Regions from separate parts of the Homo sapiens genome. Here all the other regions are linked to region 1. Evidence: promoter capture Hi-C in 16 types of primary human blood cells and fetal thymus (Javierre and others, 2016). All regions are on one chromosome and are shown on one strand. The core of a region is centred on a gene start or on the middle of the fragment in contact, and the rest is flanking DNA. Distances in the headings are between cores, read along the strand shown. Region 1 holds the start of CHP2 (calcineurin like EF-hand protein 2). Region 2 has its middle 8.5 kb from the start of LINC02194. Region 3 overlaps CACNG3 (calcium voltage-gated channel auxiliary subunit gamma 3). Region 4 overlaps PRKCB (protein kinase C beta). Region 5 overlaps PRKCB (protein kinase C beta). Region 6 overlaps PRKCB (protein kinase C beta). Region 7 overlaps PRKCB (protein kinase C beta).

What was found. The method cuts DNA at HindIII sites, captures the fragments that hold promoters and counts their contacts. A CHiCAGO score of 5 or more calls a contact.
Region 2: a contact is called between a fragment that was not itself captured here and the fragment with the promoter of CHP2 in region 1, in 3 of 17 cell types (neutrophils, naive CD4 T cells and activated CD4 T cells). The highest score is 5.8, in neutrophils.
Region 3: a contact is called between a fragment that was not itself captured here and the fragment with the promoter of CHP2 in region 1, in 6 of 17 cell types (neutrophils, total CD8 T cells, naive B cells and 3 more). The highest score is 9.0, in neutrophils.
Region 4: a fragment that was not itself captured here is called in contact with the fragment with the promoter of CHP2 in region 1 in 1 of 17 cell types (neutrophils); the score reaches 5.2 in neutrophils.
Region 5: a fragment that was not itself captured here is called in contact with the fragment with the promoter of CHP2 in region 1 in 1 of 17 cell types (neutrophils); the score reaches 5.2 in neutrophils.
Region 6: a contact is called between a fragment that was not itself captured here and the fragment with the promoter of CHP2 in region 1, in 1 of 17 cell types (monocytes). The highest score is 5.4, in monocytes.
Region 7: a contact is called between a fragment that was not itself captured here and the fragment with the promoter of CHP2 in region 1, in 1 of 17 cell types (neutrophils). The highest score is 5.8, in neutrophils.

The regions. Positions count from the first base shown.
Region 1 is chr16:23,753,489-23,756,959 of GRCh38, forward strand. It overlaps CHP2 (calcineurin like EF-hand protein 2), which reads left to right and starts at 1,538. Exons shown (of 7, transcript NM_022097.4): 1 at 1,538-1,628; 2 at 2,173-2,245; 3 at 2,359-2,439; 4 at 2,575-2,705; 5 at 2,900-2,961. The coding sequence starts at 1,562. RefSeq lists an enhancer at 1,426-2,071. The HindIII fragment of the contact is 3,392 bases long and covers 1-2,422 here.
Region 2 is chr16:24,225,767-24,229,395 of GRCh38, forward strand. No RefSeq gene overlaps it. Among named protein-coding and RNA genes, the nearest start is that of LINC02194, 8.5 kb to the right of the region's middle. The HindIII fragment of the contact is 2,105 bases long and covers 1,219-3,323 here.
Region 3 is chr16:24,257,244-24,260,520 of GRCh38, forward strand. All of the region lies in intron 1 of CACNG3 (calcium voltage-gated channel auxiliary subunit gamma 3), which reads left to right. Among named protein-coding and RNA genes, the nearest start is that of CACNG3, 2.5 kb to the left of the region's middle. The HindIII fragment of the contact is 1,263 bases long and covers 1,277-2,539 here.
Region 4 is chr16:24,149,897-24,153,259 of GRCh38, forward strand. All of the region lies in intron 9 of PRKCB (protein kinase C beta), which reads left to right. Among named protein-coding and RNA genes, the nearest start is that of MIR1273H, 52 kb to the right of the region's middle. The HindIII fragment of the contact is 3,641 bases long and covers 1-3,143 here.
Region 5 is chr16:24,089,113-24,092,302 of GRCh38, forward strand. The region is part of intron 5 of PRKCB (protein kinase C beta); the gene reads left to right. Among named protein-coding and RNA genes, the nearest start is that of MIR1273H, 110 kb to the right of the region's middle. The HindIII fragment of the contact is 3,547 bases long and covers 1-3,190 here.
Region 6 is chr16:24,205,690-24,208,869 of GRCh38, forward strand. The region is part of intron 16 of PRKCB (protein kinase C beta); the gene reads left to right. Among named protein-coding and RNA genes, the nearest start is that of MIR1273H, 4.2 kb to the left of the region's middle. RefSeq lists an enhancer at 2,896-3,180. The HindIII fragment of the contact is 2,799 bases long and covers 1-2,741 here.
Region 7 is chr16:24,125,324-24,128,499 of GRCh38, forward strand. The region is part of intron 9 of PRKCB (protein kinase C beta); the gene reads left to right. Among named protein-coding and RNA genes, the nearest start is that of MIR1273H, 76 kb to the right of the region's middle. The HindIII fragment of the contact is 3,780 bases long and covers 1-3,176 here.

The DNA.
Region 1 (3,471 bases), core at 288-2,787:
AGCCACCGCGCCCGGCCTCTTTTCTTTTCAAGACAGGGTCTCACTCTGTCACCCAGGCTGGAGTGTAATGGCGTGATCATGGCTCCCTGCAGCCTCAACCTCCTGGGCTCAAGTGATCCTCCTGTCTCAGACTCCCAAGTAGCTGAGACTACAGGCATGTGCCACGACACCTGGTTAATTTTTTTTTTTTGTATTCTTTTGTAGAGATGGGGTCTCACTATGTTGCCTAGGCTGGTCTTGAGCTCCTGGGCTCAAGCAATCCTCCTGCCTCTACCTCCCAAAGTGCTGGGATTACAGGCATGAGCCTCCACGTCTGCCCTGAAATTTCAATATCACAGCTATACTGTATATCTATTTATGTGCTGTATGTATGCTGTGCTTTGTACATAAAAAATATGTTTTATTTTTTGCCCCGTTGGGGTGAGATAGAGACCGCACTGAGAATGCACGCTTTACATAATTAGTTCACAACTTGCCCCCGGCAGCCTCCACCACGTAAAATTAGAAGAAAGCAGCCCAGCAGGGCCTACAAGGAATGTGTGAACGGATGCACGTAAAGTGCTTAGCAAAGCGTGGTAAACAAGAGCCCTTGTTGTCATTCTTGCTTTAAGCCTAGTCCCAGTGATGTCTGTAACCCTCTCTTGGGCCAAGGAGTCCCATGGCTCTGGAGGGCTGTTCAGAGGACTAAGTCATTCCCAGTCTGGAGCTCTACGGGATCAGTAGGTACCTAAGGGAGTGAATTGGGCTTGGAGGGACTGTGGCCAGAAGACAGCTCTGGGCCTGGTGGTGATAGAACTTCTGATTTCTCAGGAAAAGCCAAGAATGTGGATTTTGGGTTAAATCTCCTGAATTTTAAGCATTGGCTCAATTAAACAACAATAAGGCAATGTGAACCGAACAAAAGGGATGAAACCAAGATTTACTGACTTTCCCAGAGTCACGGGCACGGCTGGGATTCCAACAAGGACTCCCAAACCAGTGCTCTTTCCACTTAACCTAACGCACACCCTTCATCTCGCCGCCCCTCCCCACTTCCCCGTCTTTGGGAGTTCTTCGATGCCTCTTCCCCCCTCCCCCCAGGATTCCCTCCCCATAGGCCACCCGCCTTCCAGCAGGGCGTGGTCTCTACAGAGGAGGTCAGGTCTCCCAGGCTTCCTCAGCGTCGACGCCGGGGAGCGCCCTGGGGTTGGGAGCGCCCGGGGCCCGCGAAGGAGGAGGTGGCTCAGGTGTCAGGGCGCACCGTGGGAACCGGCCCCGGGGGAGGCGTGGAAACGCGGGGCCTGGGACTCGACCAGCCTCTCCCGTGCGGATCGCAAAATCTCGGAGCTGAAACAGCCCGTTGTTCGCAGCCTCCCTCTGACCCGCCACCCTGCACATTGTTTTCCATTCGCCCGGGTCGCGGGTGGGAGGAGAGGCACGCCGGGGTTCTGGAGCTTGGCCGCGCGCCAGGCTTGTGGCCTTCGTCCCCCTGGGGCCACTGGGGCGGCCACGCCTCTCCGGCGGGAGGAGAGAACGCGTGGGTCCGGGTGGCTGCTCCGGCCCTTCCGCCTCCAGCTCGGCCATGGGGTCGCGCAGCTCCCACGCCGCGGTCATTCCCGACGGGGACAGTATTCGGCGAGAGACCGGCTGTGAGTGCGCCCGCGTCGGCGGCTGCGGAGGGGACGGGGCGAACCCAGGCGTCTGGGGCTAGGGAAGGGGTTGGGTTGAAGGATGGACGAACTTACAAGTCTGGGGTCCGGGGCTCCCCGGAGCTGGAAGACCAAGGCCCCTGTGCCTGGGATCGCTGGGTTAGGGGCGGGTTAACCTAGGGGTCCCAGCCTCCAAGTCTGGGGAGGATCCGGGTTCACGGGGTCGGAGTCCAGAGGAATCCAGGCACCCAGGTGTCCTCCAGCCCGGCTCGAAGCTGAAGGCAGAGCTGACGGCGGTTGGAAGGGATGGCTTTGGTTCTTTGGTTTTCGGGAGGTTGCGAGCCGCCCGGGTCTTGAACCTGGATCTTCGCGGGGTCGTGTCACTCTCCCTCCGCCCCGGCCAGCTCAACCCCTGATTCCCCGGGATGATCGCCCCTTCCAGCCAGCCCCCGCTGTTCTGGCCCATCTTCCTGGCCTGTTGGGGCGGGTTTCTGGAGCTGGCCCTGCAGAGTCACACACCCCCACCCCACTCTCCTTCCCGCAGTCTCCCAAGCCAGCCTGCTCCGCCTGCACCACCGGTTCCGGGCACTGGACAGGAATAAGAAGGGCTACCTGAGGTGAGGGGGAGCCGGCCTCATAACTTCTGGCCTCTGTCTCTCTGACTCCATGTCCCTCTTTGACCCTCCGTCTGGCATCTCTGCCTTACCCTCTTTGAAATTTGGCTTTGCAGCCGCATGGATCTCCAGCAGATAGGGGCGCTCGCCGTGAACCCCCTGGGAGACCGAATTATAGAAAGCTTCTTCCCCGATGGGTGAGGCTTGCTGGGCGTGGGGAGGTGAAGGCGGGAAAACCGGTGTGTGAGTGGGTGGGAGGGGAGGTTAGAGACGGAGGCAAAGTGATGGCCAAGGTGACCACCACCTCTTTCCATTCTGTCCCGTCTCCCCAGGAGCCAGCGAGTGGATTTCCCAGGCTTTGTCAGGGTCTTGGCTCATTTTCGCCCTGTAGAAGATGAGGACACAGAAACCCAAGACCCCAAGAAACCTGAACCTCTCAACAGCAGAAGGAACAAACTTCACTGTGAGTTTGTGAGGACCTGCACAAGTGAGAATGCAGATGTACCCACACCAGGGACAGGCTCCAGGGATCTCCCACTCCCTTCCTGAGGGCATTGACAACCTCCCCCCTCCTCCAAGGTGGGGGGAAGGAAGGTGGCTGCTGGAAGAGAGCCAGGGAAGACCTACCTTCCTTTCCCCCTCCCACCCTCTCCCCAGATGCATTTCAGCTCTATGACCTGGATCGCGATGGGAAGATCTCCAGGCATGAGATGCTGCAGGTTGGCAGAAAGCGAGAGCAAGAGATGTGATGTGTGAAGGATGGGATGGTTAAATGCAATGGTGTGAGAGATGGGGTGGGATGATTGGGGAACTGGGGCGCAGATAATTGGGGTATTGGTTGGGAAATGGGAATGGGTGCAGTTAGAGTGTGGGTTTGTTGGGAGTCGGAGTGGGGAGCAGTTGACTATGAGGTTGGGAATAGATCAGTGATTCTCAACTGGGGGTGATTTTGCTCCCTGAGTGAATATCTGGCAATATCTGGAGATGCTTTTTGTTGTCACAATGGGGGAGAGAGTGTGCTACTGGCATCTAGTGGGTAGAGGTCAGGAATGTGGCTATATATCATGCAATACCCAGGAGAGCCTCTTCCAACAAGGAGTTACCTGGCTCCAAATGTCAACAGTGCCAAGATTGAGAAACTCTGGAACAGATGTGATGGAATGAGGATGGAATTAGAAACCCTTAGTGGCTAAGGTGGAGAATGGTGTGGAGGATGGATGGAGGTTGGG
Region 2 (3,629 bases), core at 1,021-3,520, 470 kb after region 1:
GGCATAAATAGGCAAGATGGAGACTACTGGGAGCCGTGTCTGAAGCTGTCTACCACATAATACGGGCTGGAGTAAGGGAGGGAGGTGTCCTAGCACTGTTTCCAACAAACTTGCTCAATCTTGACCAGCCAGGTCAACCCTCCTCCCTAGAGGTGAAGTCGGGGTGGGGAGCAGGGACTGTGATGATCCCTTCTCTGAGAGTTTCTTAGCTGGTATGAATGATCAGACTGACACAATTAATCCAGATGAAAGAGATTCTTTCAAACATAATGATTTGGGCCTCTCATAAACAGAGAAGACATTAGTATTTCCTTAAACCCACACAACTTAAGGGCCCTTGCTCTCAAAATAAAGGAGTTTCCTTGACTCCCTAAGACATCAGCAGCACCAGATTCACATTTCTGCCCTAGTTAAGCAGCAGAAATCAAAGGGGGACTTTAGCTGATGAGCCCCTGAAGGTATTTGACCCCGAGGTCGTCCTCAGGAAATCCTACTAATTGTAAGTGGGCAAAGCCCAGCACAGGACTTTCAAGGGAAATAGATGAACAAAGAGGAAATACCAGAAAATTATGTTAAGAGGGAAGACTCTCTGAAAATTATGTTAAGGGGGAACAAGCAGAAATGACCTCCAAATCTCATCCCCTATCATCTCATGGCTCAAATCTGGATTGGGGGTGATTTGCTTATTGTTAATATGCCACAGGGGCTGAACCCATGGCAGGGACCCCATGGCTTTGGAGAGAAATCATTGGACATGGAAGGTCTATTTCATTCATTCATTCTACAAATCTCTCTTTAGAATGAATGACTGTTCCAGATGGGAACAAAGCACGGGCCCTTTTCTCATGCAGCTGATGTTTAGGAGGGATGCATATTAAATGCATATTAAATATGGTGAATAACATGATTGGAGACAGCAGGGTTTTGACCTGCTGGGTTGTCAATAAATAGCTGGGTTGTCGACTATTTAACTAAGGCGCCAAGGAGGGTGGCCTTCTTGACAAGGTGATATTTTGAGCTCAAAGATGAGAATCCAGAGCAAAGCATTCCAGACTGAAGGAATGTCAAGAGCCAGAACCTGAGGGCTGGCCTGTCAAGGAGCAGAAAGTAGAACCATGTGGCTAAAGACTGGTAAACATTGGACCAAGTGGTAGAAGATTCCTTCCAAAGAGGAAGTCAGCAGTCTGATCACGTAAGCATTTGTAGACCCTGCTGAGAAGCTTGACTTTGTTCTAAGTTCAATGAGAATCCCTTGAAGACTGTATTACTTTCCTGTTGTTGCTGTAACAAATTGTCACATGCTCCATAGCTTGAAACACCACAAATATATTATCTTATTGTTCTGGAGGTGAGAGGTCCAAAAGCAGCCTTGCTGGACTAAAATCAAGGCATTAGCAGAGCTGGTTCCTTCTGGAGGCTCCAGAGGAGAATTGGCTTCATTTCCTTTCCCACCTTCTAGAGGCTGCCTGCTTCCTTAGCTCATGGCCCCTGTTCATCTTCAAAGTGCATCTCTGCAACTTCTATGTCTGCTTTTCCATCTGTGACTTTTCTGCATCCCTTCTGATTACCTTGGGACCACTTAGATCATCCAGGATAATCTCCCCATCTCAGATTTTTAACACATCTGCAAAGTCCCCTTTGTCACGTAAGGAGCTTATTCACAGGTTTCAGCGATTAGGATGTGAATGTGTTGGGAGGGCCTTTATTCTGTCTCCCTACAGAAACTTTAAGCAAATAATGGCCATGATCTGATTTGTATTAGAGAATATAGTTTGTAGAGAAAAAGGAGGAGCAGGAAGATCATTGGAGGCCATTGTAATAGTGCAGCAAGGAGGCAGAGGTGCAGTTTACCTTGACCACTGCCATCCTTGTGGAGATGAGAGAGTAGAAACACACACACACACACACACACACACAGAGAGAGAGAGAGAGAGAGAGAGAGAGAGAGAGAGAGGCAGGTGACTGCCGCTGACAAATCCAGCCAATCTTGTTTTTACTGACCCCAAGCCCAGGGTTCTTTCAACCATCCCAGCTTTGTTTCTCTAGGGTCTGTGTGACATTTTTGAAGGGAAGAGACTTGGCCAGAAAGGGAGGGAAAGCAGGACAAGATTAGGGCATCTGTAGTGGTGAGTAAGGCCCAGAGTAGTAAGCTGAATAACGACCACCCAAAGATATCAAGTCCTAACCCTGGAATTTGGAAATTTTACCTTATTTTGGGGGTGGGGAGGAAGGTCTTTGCAAGAAGTAATTGAATGGAGGATCTTGAGATGAAGAGATGACCCTGGGTTAACAGGGTGGGCCTTAAATGTCATCACGAGTTTCCTTACAAGGCAGAGGCAGAGGAAGATAACACAGACACACGGAGGAGAAGGCAATGAGAAGATGAGGCAGAGGGAGATGCAGGCACTAGATGCTAAAGGATGCGACAGTCACCAGAAGCTGGAAGAAGCAAGGAATGCATTCTCCCGTAGACCCTCCAGACAGAGCACAGCTCTGCCAACACCTTGATTTCATACTTCTGGCCTTCTGGACTGTGGGAGAACACCTGTCACCATTTAAGGCTACTCAGTTTGTAGTAATTTGTTTCCACAGCCCCAGGAAACTGATACACCTGGTGTGGATCAGATCATAGCCTAGCGTGTGACCCAACTGCTGTGAAATTGACCAAGCTGGGATTTCAAAACCAAGTTCCCGAGTATTGCCATGCCAGCAGGCAAGTGCAGTCAGGGATGAACCCTCACTCCTGGTTGTCCCAGGAAAAGAGATGAGATGACCCTACCAAGGTTGCTCTGACAGCAAGAGGACCTTGATGCCTCTAAACCCCTTTCCCATTGGCACTGTCCCCACCAGCTGGAATAAAGAGCAAGGACCCTGTCTCTGTGGATACAGCCCTCCTGCGGGGCCCCCAAAGACAACGGATGCTTCGTATGGTGCAGGCCTGGGGACAGCTCGCCTCTCCCTCGCAATACACCCACCTGGGGTTGGCTCAAACTCCTTTTTGTCTGTTGCTGCAGAGAGTGGTGGAAAGCTACAGAGAATGGACAAAACTCACAGACCATCTGTTCATCTTCTGTGTTTTGTGAATTTATTTTCAAATGTTAAGCATTCGATAGCAGTCGTCAGGCATCATCTCAAAACTTACCATTTGGGGAAAGGCATTCTTTTAAAAATCTACAAGAATCACTCATAGACCAGTGAGAGTCAGGGTTTGGAATAGGGGGTGAGTCGTATTTTGAAACATCTTCAAATATTATCATATAATTTCATAACCGGAAAAGGAAAATAAGATGTCTTGTTTTTATAATACAGACTTCAGGAAGGAAAGCTTGACAAGATTTCACTAGAAGAGCTCTGTAGAAAATGGAGGGATTTCTTAAGAATGAATCAAGGCTCTTGATCAAGGGTGGGCGTGTGGGGGCTTATTGGAATATCCTGGCCATGGTAAGATTTTATAAATATTTTTCAGGAAGGGACACAGGTTCTCTCTCTCTCTCCATATATATATATATATATATATATATATATATATATATATATATATATATATACACACACACACACACACACACACACATATATATACACACACACATACATATATATCTATCTATCATCTATATATATATACA
Region 3 (3,277 bases), core at 658-3,157, 500 kb after region 1:
CTAGGCATATTGTCAACTGCTTGGATCTCTGGCTTGAGATGGGGTCTTTAACCCTGCTTAAATTGGATTTCGAAGGGAGGGGGAGGGAAGGGAGGAGAAGGGACAAGAGGAAAGAAGTGAGGGGGGAGAGAGAGAGAGAGAGAGAGAGAGAGAGAGAGAGAGAGAGAGAGAGAGAGAGAGAGAGATCCTGACCCGGTCTGGCACATTCTGAGCTATTTCATTATTTCTCAACATAGACTTATCAGTTTCTCCTGAGTTTGCTCTAACTAGATATTGTCATGAACTTCCACTGCCAATCAGTAACAGGGTAACATATGTAAACCCCTACTCCCACCCACACCCTATGCACACATTTTAAGAAAAAATCCTTATTGATACATGTTTTATTAGTTTGGATCACAACAAAACTGAAGTCTTGGTATTTTGTATCCACCTGTCTTCATTCCTAAATCATTCCCAAACCCCTAAAAAGGTATTTCCATGACATTTACAAAAGACTGATTCTCCAAGAATTGCAGTTCGTCATTTCTAGTTCTAAAAATTAGGGAGTAGTTATAACTTATAATGAAGAAGAAAGAGCAATTTAAAAATATAAAGCCCTTTTGTAGCCTATCACACTATTAAACTTGCTTTCACCACACCAGAAGTCACTCTCAGCACCAGTAGGCAATGCTTGGATATCACTGGGAGTAAATAGAAAGATAAGGAAGAAAATCAAAGCTCTTTGGAGCCTATGTGCCTGAGGGAAGTCACTGGATTAGAGGGGCAGTAGGGGTTTTCTTAGGCTTCCGAGAAATCTGTGAAGCTTGTCACAGTGGTGGGCAAGGAAATCTGCGTTTCCTGTGTGGTCCCCTCCCCTGCTTGCCATTGGTTCTTCACACTGCATTTTCACTGGCTGGCATTTGTCAGGGCTTCTTGAGAACTTGCATTTATGTAAATCGCTTGGGAAATCATGCTATGACATCACTTGCCAGTGTAATATTGCATCATTCTCTGGCCTTTTTCCCATGTCCTGACACTTTGAACAACTGCTCTCCTGACCGTAGCGCTACTACAATTGATTCTGTTTCTAACACAAATTTGCAACTGGTGGGAAGCCCAGGTAGGAAAGGGCTACCTTTAATGCAGCAAGGATCATGTGAAGTCAGAAGACCTGGGTAATGCTGCAAAGTATCGCTGTGGCCTTGGTTAAGACATTTACCCTCTCCAACTCTCAGTTTATTCATCTGGGAAATGATACGTTTGGATTAGGTGGTCTTGAATTAACATTATCTAAAGCTTATACTGTATTCAATATACTGACAGAAATTCTAGAATAATTATTTCCTAAACAATGACAAAAGTTGGATATTTGTGAGCATTTGTGATTGGGTATGGTGAAGTCATTTACCTCAGGGAAATTCCATATTTCCCTTTCTTATATTGGCTATAAGGAATTGAATTATCTTTTGTAAAACTGATTTGGTGGATGTTGCGATATCTACATGGTTCTAGAGATGGCATAGAAGTTCTAAGGTTCCTCCAAGCCAAAAATGGCACATATGTATACAGTGCTTTAGCCATTTCCAATTCTTCTGCCTCTGGGAATCAAACCTGAGAATGCACAATTAAAAATGAAGTTTGACGTTCCTCATTATGATCTATGAAAAAAATATATATCTATAAGAGCAGAGGTAGGACCTAAAATTTCTAAACACTTGCTAAGAATTTCTCAACTGATGATTTCTCTTTTTTCCAACATCAAGTCCTACACCCACAGTTTGTACAAGGAATTGAAACCCCAGCCAGGCATTCTGTAGGCTTAGTGGGAGAAGTGAGAAATTGAATCAAGAAGGAATTGGATGAATTGAAGACATAACCTTGGGCAGGTGAATTCTATTGAGAAAATGTGTTGCAGTCCCCATACAACTTGGCCTGGCTTTTTTTGTTGTTGTTCACTTTTTTGAAGTATTAAATACAGTAAGATGCACAAATCACAATGAATCACAATAAAATATTAGCTATGGCTGCACCCATGTAATTAACACCTAGGTGGGTCCTGGCTGAAATTTGAAGCCAAGATGTGTACTAAACACATCAAGTGTTTGGGGAATTTGCAGAAGCCTCTGATTTCTGCATGGGAAGTCACATGCAGTTGGTAGCATCCATCCCAGGCATTTCCATCCTTTGCTAGAATGAAGATGAACAGTCCTTTCCCATTCAGTATTTCTTACCTACACCTGAGCCTCAAAATCCTCATTTTCTGGTCCTTTAAGTGTCAAATGAAAACTGGGGGTTTTCGTAGCTCCATTTTCTTAGAGGTCAAATTAGAAATGTTTGTTCTTCTGTGCTTTTTTAAAGAGCCATGAGACAATGTGATTATTTTATCCAAAAGAAGAGAATGCCAAGGAGAACATGACAGCTGTCTGCAAATATCTGAAGGGCTGTCATATGAAAGAGAGATTTGAGATGTTCTGTGTGGCCTCAAGGAGGTAGAAGTAGGAGCTAGAGGAAACCAGGTTTTACCTCAATATAAATAACTATCCAATGTGGAATGGGAAGCTTTGGCAGGTGATGGGTCTTCCAACACCAAAAATATTCAAGAATAAGCAAACTACATCGTTTCCCAACTTTGCTGGTCATCAGATTCTCATGAGGAACTTTTAAAAAATTAGATTATCAGGGGCTCCACAACTAGATTCCCTGCTTCCATAGGTCTGAGGTAGACCAGGAAAATCTGAGTTTTCTAAAGGTGCTCCAAGCAATTATGATGTTAAAGCCAACATGTATTGGTATTTGCACTGGTATTGACTATGTGTTTTAAGGATGATCCCATCACTCAAGGAGGAGAAGGATGTTTCCAGTTTTCATTTCTGTAGGTAAGTTATATCCTTCTCCTCCTTGAGTGACATGATCAGCCAAACCAAGTTTACCTTGTAGCTGAATTTGGCCCATGGGCTGCCAGTTTTGAGCCTTGTAAATTACCTAAATGGCATTTTTAATCCAAATTTCTGATATTTTTATATTTGACTCCTGAATTACTCTTTAATAGTCAATAATCACTTTTTCAACCCTTAAAAAATACCTAGGAAAAAATAAGCTAACCTACCAGAATATCCCTTACATTTAGCACTTACTATGTGCTCAGGCTGTTCGAAGAATTTTGAAAAATTAACTCTTTCATCTTCAAAGCAGCTCAGTTGTGTAGGTACTATTATTACCCTCATTTTACAGATGAGGAAACTGAGCCCTGGGGGATTTACATAACTTGCCCAAGGTCACACACCTAAACTCAGCA
Region 4 (3,363 bases), core at 73-2,572, 400 kb after region 1:
TTTCAAACAGAAAATGGCTAAGCCTCATGAGAGATTGGAAACTGAAAGCAAGGCCTCTGCTTGTTCTCTTACCTTCTTTGTTTTTTTCCCCCTGCCTCAAACATCTATTTTATTCCTCTTTGCCTGCACAGTGGTAGAAAAGGACCACGCTAGGCTGAGTGTGGTGGCTTACGCCTGTAATCCCAGCACTTTGGGAGACCTAGATGGGCGGATCACTGAAGGTCTGGAGTTTGAGAACAGCTGGGGCAACATGGTGAAACCCCATTTCTACTAAAAATACAAAAATTAACCAGGTGTGGTGGTGGACGCCTGTAATCCCAGCTACTTGGGAGGTTGAGGCAAGAGAATTGCTTGAACTCGGGAGGAGGTGAACGAAGATCATGCCACTGCACCCCAGCCTGGGCAACAGGGTGAGAATCTGTCTCAAAAACGAAAAACAGAAAACAAAACAAAACAAAACAAAAAAGGACCACTCTAGGAAGATCTGTGTATTCTCTGTTGAGGGACCCAGGACTGACTCCTCAGAGTACCCTAATTCAAATTCTTGGGAGGGGGAATCCGATTGGCTTGGCTCAGGTTGAGGAACTTACCTCTGATCCAATCAGCTGTGACCAGCTGTATCCACTGCCCAATCAGAAGGTTCTTCTAATAACACAGAGTTGGAAGAAGTGAAAGGCATGCTAGGGTTTTCATTTCCAAATTAAACTGCAGTCATTTTTTATCATGTGGTTACTCTTATTTTCCCTGATCTTCTTGAAACACTTGTTGCAAAACAAGGGTCAGCAAACTATTGGAGCCCAGGCTATTGCTTATTGTTGTAAATAAAGTTTTATTAGACTACGGCCACACTCATTCTCTTGATCCAGACCGTCCCGCAAAGCCTATAATATTTCCTGTTTGGCCCTTTATAGAGAAAGTGTCCTGACTCCTGCTCTAGAATTCAGTTCGCTTCTATGTCTAAATTTTTGCTATGCCTTATGCATGCCCGTTCTGTTTTCCGTTAATCAGTATAGGGCATGTTGTTGAGGGCAGGGCAAGACACTGGGAATCTTCACACACCCCTGTTTATTGATTTTTAAAACTATCTGTACAAATGCAATAGTATCTCCTACGATGCGGAGCACATAGCATTGCTGATTTGCAAGAAGATTTCAACTGCTACTTGAGATTGTTTTAGGTGCCGTGTAGTTGCACTATGAAATAAAATTAAATCACGTTATGATAAGGTTATTTCTGTGTCTCCTTTTACTCTTTCTAATTACTTGAACAAGCAAATCTCATTTGATGACAATATGCTCTCTAACAACTTTCTAATACAATTTTTTCCTTTAACAAGGAGAAGATGCAGAGCCTGACTCAGAACCTTCAGCAGCCAGCAGTATATAGCTAGAATTTACTGGCACCGCTTTGCTTTTATTTATTTTTATGCTTATCTTCCATTTATGACTTGTGATACTGGCTTGCCATTAATAGTGGTGATATAAAGTTTCCTTTTCAAATTTAGTTAAGTTGAAATGTGACTAGATTTTTAAAATGCTAAGCAAATAACAGTTTAGGTGGCAGGAAGAAATGTGAAAAAACGGATATGAATGATTGAAGTGCGGAAATGCCTGAGCTACAGTAACTGACATAGTTACAAAGCAGCCCTGGTGCCCAGAGGAGGTAGTGGCCGATTTGGTCTGAATGGAACCTCCAGATTAGAGGAGGAGATAACAGCCCAGTGGAATCTCAGATTTTCAAAGCAGTGCAAGAGCATGGAAGGACGTCATAGACAGTGGGAGTCGAATGTTCAAAGGAAAAGAAAGAACAGGATGTGGTCATGGAATTGTTTGGCTTTCAAGAGCCACTGAAGGGCTTTCAGCATTCAAGTGGCACAGTCAGAGCTGCATTTTCAGAACAGTCATTAGCTGAAGCAAGTTAATCTCCCTGAGCCTCAGTGTGTTTATCTACGAAATGGGGGTAATTGACACAGATGTAGGATGTCCACCCCTGTCCCTGGTGAAGGGGGAAATTCCCAGCCATTCTGCCCTGTCTCTCTTCCATGTGGAAGGCTAAGATGTCCTATCATGACTGCATCTGCACTGAAGGTGTCTAGGGCCCCTCCTTCTCTCGTTTTGGTTGGGGGAATGGGAGATAGTTGCAGATATTCAGGATTGTTGGATGGTGCCTTGACCGGTGGTGATGGGTCAGGGAGAGTGTATTAGTCCGTTTTCATGCTGCTGATAAAGACATACCCGAGACTGTGTAATTTATGAAAAAGAGGTTTAATGGACCTGGGGAGGCCTCAATCATGGTGGAAGGCTAAAGTCACGTCTTACATGGTAGCAGTCAAGAGAGAATGAGAGCTAAGCGAAAGGGGAAACCCCTTATAAAATCATCCGATCTTGTGAGACTTATTCACTACCACTAGAACAGTAGGCAGGAAACCGCTCCCATGATTCAATTATCTCCCACCAGGTCCCTCCCACAACACGTGGAAATTACGGGAGCTACAATTCAAGACGAGATTTGGGTGGGGACACAGCCAAACCATATCAGAGGGTGTCCACTGTCAAGGACAGCTCAGCACCAAGCCCTTCTTACTGGGCTCTGGAGTTTCTCAGCTGAGAACTCTTCTTCTTTCCATCTCCAATTCCTCTGCTCACTTGTCTTCCAGCTAAGTCACCTCCCTGCCCCCTCCCTGCACATGTCCCGGCCCCAGCTCTCTCTGGAATCCAGGAGCAGGAAGTCCCTGTCTCCACCTGACTCTACATCTTAGGAAAGTGACTCCCTTGAGTCATTGTTTCTGTGTTAGTAAGCATTGAGGAAGGAAAATACATCCCTTGGGTACCAGGGAGAGAACAGAGGGAGGCAAGAAATAAACTGAAGGTGCCCATCCTAGCACTTGGAGCCCTGTCTTGCCATGCACGTAAGCAGAGGGTCTGCAGGAGCCACTCAGACTGGCAGCTTTTCTTTTTTATTGTGCTGGGGAAGAAAGAGGTTAAAAAGAGTTCTCTTGCTGTGGAAGTGTGTGACAGGGACCCTCTTCCTAAGGTGTCCCAAATCCCTGCATCTGCCTGGCCTTTGTCACTGTGGCTGTGATGAGAGAGAAGATGGTGAGGACAGGAGATAGGAATGCTGTGAGCTGGCAAGCTCAGCTCGGAAGCTTCAGTGCATGGGTGCATGATCTGGAAGCTTCTGTGCATGAGTTTAGCCAGACCTTTTGCTGCTGGGATAAGAGCTGAGTGGGGTGTGCAGAGCTGCCTTCCTGCTGCTAAGCTTATTCTATATGTCACCCCTTCTAGCCTGAGTCCTCTGTTGCATCCTCTGGTCCTCCAGCTGAGTTGAGTGTAGCATCTAATTTCCTCAATCACCTGAACTCTG
Region 5 (3,190 bases), core at 390-2,889, 340 kb after region 1:
AGTTGGATATTATATTCTATGGGGAAAATGCATGGGTATTTTGAGAAATTATTATTCTCCAGAACAATGTTACTTAATGTGTGTCTTATAGACTGGCAGCATCAGCATCACATGGAAATGTTTTAGAAAAGCATATGGACAGGTTTCACTGCAGACTTAGGGAATCAGAATCTATCTGTGGGGGTGGGTGCCAGATACATGTGTCTCATGAGTCCTCTGAGTAATTTTTATGCACACTAAGGTTTAAGAAGCTCTCCTGTGGAAGGGTTCGAGTAAACATCGAATGCATTGTTAAGAAGAAAACCACAAATGGTTCCATTTGATGTCAGTACGTGTGGAAATGGTTAACTCTTCATAATAAAAATAGACAAACAGGCAAGGCATGGTGGCTCACACTTGTAATCCTAGCACTTTGGGAGACCAAGGCTAGAGGATCATTTGCATCCAGGAGTTTGAAACCAGTCTGGGCAACATAGAGAGACCCCCACCTCTACAAAAATTTTTTTAAAAATTAGTTAGGCATAGGTTGGCAAGCACCTGTAGTCCCAGCTACTTGGAAGGCTGAGTTGGGAGGATCACTTGAGCCCGGGAGGTCGAGGCTGCAGTGAACCATGATCATGCCACTGCACTCCAGCCTGGGTGACAGAGTGAGACCTTGTCTCTCTCTCTCTCTCTCTCACACACACACACACAACAAAAACGTAGTGAAAGAGGGCATTGCATATGAATAAGAATAATAATGAAATAGCAGTAATATATAGCAGTTAACATTTATTGAGTATTTTTTAAGTTCCAGGTTCTGTGCTAAACATGTATATTCTTTATCCAATTTTACTCTTGTAACAACCTATTTTATTGATCAAGAAATTGAGGTTCATATGTGTGAAGTAACTGCTTGGTAAGATGCGGACCCTGGGATCTTATAGCCCTGTGTCCATGACACTATATGGTCTGTCTTGGGGACAAGATTAACATTTTATTTTGTCCCCTATATCCCCAGGGCCTAGCAGAATGCTTAGCACTTAGTAGGGACTTGCTTGTTGAACTTAACTGATCAAGGTCAACATCTTGCTTTTGGTGTAAAAATGAGATGCAGCTTGCAAGCTGAGATGGGAGATGAATTCAGCCTGTGGAAAAATAGAAGACACTGCCATGTTGCTGGAGTGCAGAAAAAATGTCAGCACAGAATAAGTTACAGCTTGATCCTGGTAGCCGATTCAATGCTTCTCCCATCTCATTTATTCGGTCTCAACCCCTTACTAGCTGTATCATTTTAGGGAAGTCAGTCTTATTTATTTTCCAGCAATGGTCAGCTGTTTGAGTGTAGGAAAAGGACAGAGTAAGAAAGGACAGGTATTTGAATTTAAGTAGGGCTGGGGTCATGTGAGACAAGTAAAATAAAAAGAAAGAGGGGCAAGGGAGTTGAGGGTCTTTCCAAAGGAGTAGCTAAAATGCACCATAAAATTGAATCTGGATATGAATGGAGTAAAAGCAAGAGGGAATAGGGAGATCAAGAGAATGTGTTGGGTTCGAGGGACTGATTGGTGGAGAATGGACTGACGAATAGGGGAAGATTTATTGCAGTAGAATAATAGAACTAATGAATTGGAAAAATAGAAATTGGTGTAAGATAGTAGGGTACTTGAAACTGAGATTGAGAAAGTGGTATAATTTCTGGGATAATAGGCTCCAGAGCGTGACCATGGTAGGAGATAACTATGATTGGGGGTGAGCAAAGGTTGCAGGAAATGAGGGGGTGCTTTCTCTCCTACTTTCCAATATTCTTTCTTCTAATCTGTTTTTCTTGTTATCTTGAGTTTACAAAATTTCTGGTTTTATTTATGCTGTGGATATTTTTCCAGCCTTTTCCCTATGGGCTGTCTGGGTGCAGGTTATGGGTGATACATGGATAATAGGTGCATCTTGGTTTAGAGGGTAACTCTTTATTTCTTACTGCACTTATGGAACACGAGAAAAAAAAGTATTAAATAATGGCTATGGTAATGGATATCTTTGTCTTATTCCTTACTTTAATGGAATTGCATTTATCATGAACCATGGTGCTGTTATTTCAGATAGCCTTTATCCTGTTAAAATTCTCTGCTGTTTCTAGATAACTACAATGATCTTATGGTTTTCTTCTTTGATCTATAAATATGATGAATATATTGAAAATAGATTTCCTAAGATTGAACCATCTTTGCATTCCTGATAGGAGTCATTATGTATTCACCTTTTAGCAGATAGTTAGAGTCGATTTGGATTGAATGTATTACTGTGGATTGTTCTACTGTAAGTGAGATGATTGACATTGTATCCTTAAGAGCTGTGCAATTCTCATTTTCTAGTCTGCTTCCATTGACTACCTGCATTACTGGTTTCTGAATTGATTCCTAATTAACTACTTCCTGTTTCTCCAAGCTGATGATTTAGTCTCCCTCATCCTTTCTATAGCCAGTTGCATCTTCACTGCTGATTCCCTGCCTCCTTTTCTCCTGTAAGTTCATCTTTTTTTTTTGACGGAGTCTCACTCTGTCGCCCAGGCTGGAGTGCAGTGGCATGATCTTGGCTCACTGCAAGCTCTGCCTCCTGGGTTCATGCCATTCTCCTGCCTGGGCCTCCCAAGTAGGTGGGACCACAGGCACCTGCCACCATGCCTGGCTAATTTTTTTGTATTGTTAGTAGAGACAGGGTTTCACCATGTTAGCCTTATAGCCTCTTTACCTGGGTGTTCTGGAGTCAGGGTGGAGCTGAGCTCTAATGCTGCTGACATTGTTCCAGCCTTCTCTCTATGGGCTGTCTGGGTGCTGGTTATGGGTGATACATGGATAATAGGTGTACCTTGGTTTAGAGGGTAATTCTTCCTTTCTTTAGCTTTTTCTTTTTGAATGGAGGTAAAATTAACGTAACATAAAATTAACCATTAACTGTTTTTAAACGTACAATTCAGTGACATTTATAGAATATTCACAGTGTTGGACAACCATCATCTCTATCTAGTTCTCAGAAATTTTCATCACCTCTAAAAGAAACCCTGTACTCATTAAGCAGTCACTCCCCATTTCCCTTTCCCTCCAGCCTCTGGCAACTATTAATAGTAGTCTACTTTCTGTCTCTATGGATTTACCTGTTTGGGATGTTTCATGTAAATGGAATCATACAATATGTGACCTTTTGTGTTGGGGTACAC
Region 6 (3,180 bases), core at 92-2,591, 450 kb after region 1:
TATTTGTCCATTTGATTTTTTTTCATCCCTGGGTTCTAGAAACGCAGTGGTGAATAAAACAGATGTGATTTTGCTCTCATGTGGCTTACAGTCTAGATGAGAACATAGACAATCAACAGAGAATGAACATGTATTAATAATTATAGACTGAGATATACCAGATTTTATTTCTGTTAAAGAAATGAACAGGATATCTTGACAGAGAATAACAGGAGGGAAGAATGAGAATCCTCTTTATTTGAAGGTGGTCTGGAACAGCTTCTCTGACAGGGTGCCATTTAAACTGAGATCTGGAGGAAATCAAAACACTGGATGTTATTTTTTAATGAAAATTAAGAAAAGCAAGAGCAAAACAAAACAGACTTAGTATCAAACACAAAAGACCCCTCTCCTACTGACTTCCTCCCTAAATAAACATAAGAGATAAAAGATCCCTGATTGTAAGGGACCTTCATTATTAGCAGAAAAAGGAGACTTAAATCTCTCTTTTTTTCTGCCAAAACCCAGACCACAAATGACTTTTTAAAATGATCAAATATGTATGCAGCTTTGAGCATCTGATTCTCCCTGGAGTGGGTCCCTCCTGTATTCGGCTGTGGGAAACTGGAAGGCATAGGAACGACCCTGCATTTCACTGGATGTGCACATGTGAAAAAGAAAGATGCGCTTGTCTTTTTGCCTAGGCTATGTAGCTTGGATGTCTTTTCATCGTGACCTTCTGGTCTTGTTAACCTGAAGGTGTCCTGGTGTCTTGATGGAGGCTGGGCAGGTAGCTCCCCTGAGCCACTAGCCTCATGTTATCAAAGTCGGCTAGGCAACAGACAGCAGGGAGGAGCCTTATCCTCTCCTCCACCATCTTACCTTGTCCATGCCCTCTTTTTACCTCCATTTCTTCTCCAGGCTCTTTCCTTTCCTCCTCCAAAGAAGCAATGTCTCTCTTGCAGGTCCCACTCAAGTGAGATGTCACTCCCTCCAGACAGAGTTCCTGGCCCTTCTTGGGTTCCTTTCCTCTGTGCTCAATGGCAGCACCTGTCCCATGGTCCCATGCAGTGGCCTGTGTGTGCATCTGTGTCCTCTGCTAGATCTTAAGCTCAACGGGGACAAGAACAGGTACCCTCTTATGTATCGCCAGAGTCCAGCATGCTGCTCGGCAGAGGATCTACAACAGCCAAATATTAGCCTTCCTTATTATCCCTTAGCACCAAAATACACGTCAAAGCAGCCACTTGTTTTAGAGTTTTTTTGCTTCATTTTGTTTTGAGACAGGGTCTCACTCTGTCACCCAGGCTGAAGTGCAGAGGCACGATCATAGCTTGCTGCAGTCTAAACCTCCTGGGCTCAAGTAATCCTCCAACTTCAGCCTTCCAAGTAGCTGGGACTACAGGCATGTGGCGTCATGCCCTGAGAAGTTTTAAATTTTTGTAGAGACAGGGTCTTGCTATGTTGCCCAGGCTGGTCTCACACTCCTAGCCTCAAGCGATCCTCCTGCTGCCTTAGAGTGTTTTACTAAGATGAAGCATGTTAAAGTAGCATCAGGCTAACCTTAACAATTTACCCAAATACTCCCATTCTCTTTATTTCTATTTTTCAATTTCTTCCATGATAATTGCTGTCTCATTTAAAATAGCTTTCACAGCTTCTTTTCTTATTACAAAATAATAATAACAATACCTGATTGTTATGTAAATTTTTAAAATATAATCAAGCATAAAGGGGAAAAGGAAAAAATTAAAACCATCTGTAATTCTTCGAATCTCCATAAGCCTGTGTATAAAATGTGTACAGATATTACGTATACATTTGTGTATATAATTTATAGAATGGGAAGATATTGTACACACTGTTAGTAATTATATAACTATGTCATTTAATATTCTTCTACATCTTCTTTTAATTTTTAAGAATGTTTTGCATGGTAATACATCAAATAGATGTATCATTATTTATTTAACTGTTTTCCCTATTGGCCCATAGTAGATTCCCAATTTTTCTTTCCTCTGACGATTCTTTGATGAACACCCTGTATTTTGATGGGGTAAATCCAGGAGTATAGAGGACAGGTCAGGGAAAACCTCGTGGAGGAAGTGACACTGCTCTGGAGACAGAAAGGATGCACAGGAGATAGCTGGATGAGTGGAGAAGGAGTGGAAGGCAAGTGTTCCTGGCAGAGGAGGCAGCCTGTGCAAGGGCCTGGAGTCACCTCCAAGAGTTCATGAGTGTTCTAGGAACTGGAAATACTTCAGTATGGCTGGAGGGTGTCTCAGGGGGTGGGGGACACAGGCAGGGAAGGGGCCATTGACCAAGTGTCCAGGAACAGGTCCTAAATGGCCCCTTAAGCCATGCTAAGGAGTGTGGGCTTTGGGCAATGGGGAGCTATTGCAGATAAGAGCAGGGAAATGGCATACTCCAGTCAGCGTCTTTAAAAGATCCCTTTAGCTGGCCATGGTGGTGTGCAGCTGTGGTCCCAAGCTACTCACAAGGCCAAGGCAAGAGGATCCCTTGAGCCTTGGAATTCAAGGTGGCAGTGAGCTATGATCACGCCACTGCACCCCAACCTGGGTAAGAGAGCAAGACCTTGTCTCAAAAAACAAAACAAAACAAAACAAAAAAGAGATCCCTGTGGCAGTGGTGACCAAGCCAACTCCACATTCAACAGCAAGACTCTGTTATTAATTCAATGAAACAGAAATTAAAAGAGAAGAGAAAAAGAAAAAGAGCTTACGTGTAACAGGTCACAGATAAGCTTTTCAAACTGTCTAGATTCTTAAATTCAGGAGCGTAATTCAACAAATCAACCTTCTTACTCCTCTCCTTAATCCTGAAAGAGGTGCTTGTGGTTTAAATAACCCAGTTGGTTTCTGGCCCCCATTCCTGTTCCAGGAGCCCCATTGATGTACCCTGATGACAAGGGAGTCGGATTTTCTTTTTTTTTTTAAGCTGAGTGAGGCTGAAGTGTTCACCCAAGACAAGCCAGAGAGGCAGGTGCAATCCATGGTGCGTTTTTAATTAGATCCCAGCCACTGAGCTGCCCATACTTCAAGGACACAGCAGGCAGGAAACTGATCTGGGCTGTGTCTCCCAAGGGCTGACGTCTCCATTTAGGGAGCGCTCCTGAAGCTAATGGTCAGTGACAGCTCCATTTGAAAAACACAGAAACACTTAACAGGGAGGCTGTGATCT
Region 7 (3,176 bases), core at 523-3,022, 370 kb after region 1:
TTCTCTGTGTGACTTCCTTTCTTCTTTCTCCTCCCCATCACCCACTGTGCTCTGGCCACAACATCAGCTCTTGGGTCACTGAAACACACAAAGCTCCTTCCTCCCTTAGAGGCTTTGTGATTCAGCTCCTTTTGCTGTTTGCAAGGCCGGCTGCTTCCTGCAATTCACATCTCAACTTAGACGCCACTTCTTCTGAAAAATCTTCCCCAACTACCCACTGAAAAGTTGCCGCTCATTCACTGTCCATTATGTTTAACTCTCTCATGGCACCCATCACTGAGCAATGCTTTTCTTGTGTCCTTGTTGATTTTTTCTCTCTTCCCTTTCTAAGGTCTAAGCTCCACAAGAGTAGGGATCTTCTCCGTCGTGGTCGCCACTGTGATTTCAGAGCCTAGGGATGGAATTCATTCAGTGCCCAGATTGAATGCGTGGATTCTCTCTGTCTGTGGGTGGCAAGGGCATCCACTGAGATGGACTAAGGGATCTGAAATGATGGCTCAAAGTCTGAAGAGCTTCAGCATGGGATGGGAATAGAGAGTAAGGGCAGCCAGTAAGATGGCCCATCCAGTCCCTAAGGTTGGGAATAGGCAGTTGGCAGTGGTCCACAACGTTGTATGGTTTTTACCAGCAGCTCTGAGTATCCCTGGGGTGGAGATGGAGAAGGAGATGGTGGATTTGAACTAAGCGTGGGATTAGTAGAATCAGTGAACTAGAAGATTATGGAAGAAAGAGAGTTAAGGATTCTGGGAAGAGAGATGTCCACTGCAGATCCACAGAGCCTGTACCAAGTGCTCAAGAAAAGCATGTTGAATACATGAATGAAAATGGTATCTAGATTGGGTTGGGGAAGATGTCTAGCATAAAGAGGGTCATCACCTGGGTGGGAAAAAGGGAGTTTAGAAGTCTAAGGATGAAAAAAAAATAGATGAGGTCAAGATACGTAAAATGTTAGGAAGAATTGAGGCATTGAGATTTCAAACATGGAGCAGTTTCTCTGATGATGAGGAAGAAAGTGGCCTAAATAAAGAAGAGGTTCTAATAAGCTGAGTTTTTACAAATTAAATGAGCACTTTTTTTTTCTTTTTGAGATAGAGTCTCACTCTCTTGTCCAGGCTGGAATGTAGTGGTGCATTACGGTTCACTGCAGCCTCGACATGCTGGACTCAAGCAGTCCAGCTCCTACCCAAGTTCACATCTTTCTCTGACCCCCAAATAACTGCATGCACCACCATGCCTGGCTAATTTTTGTTTTTGTTTTTTTGAATCAGAATCTTACTCTGTTGCCCAGGCTGGAGTGCAATGGCGCCATCTCGGCTCACTGCAACCTCTACCTCCAGGGTTCAAGTGATTCTCCTGCCTCAGTCTCGCGCTCGGCTAATTTTTGTAGTTTTTAATAGAGACAGGGTTTCACCATGTTGACCAGGCTGGTCTTGAACTCCTGACCTCATGTGATCCGTTCGCCTCGGCCTCCTAAAGTGCTGGGATTACAGACATGAGCCACCGCACCTGACCTAATTTTTGTATTTTTTTGTAGAGACATGGTCTCACTATGTTTCCCAGGCTGCTCAAGTACTTATAAGCTCAAGCAATCATCCTGCCGTGGCCTCAGAAAGTGCTAGGATTACAGGTGTGAGCCACCGCACCTGTCCTAAATTATATATATATATGCTTTCTTTTTTCCTTTTTTTTTTTTTTTTTTGAGACGGTGTTTCTCTCTTGTTGCCCAGGCTGGAGTGCAATGGCACAATCTCAGCTCACCGCAACCTCCGCCTCCCAGGTTCAAGTGATTCTCCTGCCTCAGCCTTTTCGAGTGGCTGGCATTACAGGCACGCGCCACCACGCCCAGCTAATTTTCCACTTTTAGTAGAGACGGGGTTTCTCCATGTTGGTCAGGCTGGTCTTGAACTCCTGACCTCAGGTGATCTGCCTGCCTCAGCCTCCCAAAGTGCTGGGATTACAGGTGTGAGCCACCACGCCCGGCCATGATATTCTTAATAAGCAATGCATTCACATGATTCATCATTAAGATTATATTAAAAGGATAAACACTGAGAAGTCCTGCTCCTACCCAAGTTCACGTCTTTCTCTGACCACTTACTGCTACTGCTTTCCCTATGTGAACACTTTTATTCAGTTAATTTGCGTCTTTCCAGTCCCCCTGAGCTAATTTAACATTTTTTATTCTTGTCCTTATTAACTCAAAAGTTCATGTACTACGCCTGTTTTTGATCACTTAACAAAACAGACGAGAGGATGTTTGATGGAGGATTGGAAGTTCTGGAGAGTCCCATGGAAAGGATTGGGGTTGGGGGGTAGTGGGTGGAGTCGTAGGAGAATGAATCACTGGGGAGCAATGAGAGAATAGATCATATGTCTCCATGGAAACTGTTATAATAATTGAGAACTCTGTTCCAGACTGGAGATATAGCATCAGATAAATCATAGATGAAAACAACAGTAAGTCATGAAAGCAAAGTAGAATAACAAACACCTCTATGATCCTTTAAAACAGAGTAATCCTTTGCAACTCTAGTGTTGCCAACTAGGGTTGTAAATTAATGCAGGTTTTATATTTGAATTCCAACTTTGAACATTTTGCAGTCTGGTTAGGTATATAGATCAATCTCCATAAACAGAAGAACACAGCTGCAGTGATTTGCTCTTCCCCTTCGAAAGATGAAAGTGATGGGGCTTTGGGGTAATCTGTTTCCACCTCCCTTAACCCAGGAAAACAAAACAAAACAAAACAAAACATGTTTTTAAACCCTAATGGCCAGGTGCGGTGGTTTGCGCCTGTAATCCCAGCACTTTGGGAGGCCAAGGTGGGCAGATCACAAAGTCAGGAGTTCGAGGCCAGCCTGGCCAATATGGTGAAACCCTGTCTCTACTAAAAATACAAAAATTAGCCGGGCATGGTGGCAGGCGCCTGTATTCCCAGCTACTCAGGAGGCTGAGGCAGGAGAATCGCTTGAACCGAGGAGGCGGAGGTTGCAGTGAGCCGAGATCGTGCCACTGCACTCCAGCCTGGGTGACAGAGCAAGACACTGTCTCAAACAACAACAACAACAACAGCCCCACTAATAATTTGTGGGGCAACTAGGGAATGGCACAAGCCTTTTGGTAAGCCCTGTAAAAATGAAACAAGGCAGGAAGCAATGGTGAAGGACATTGAATTT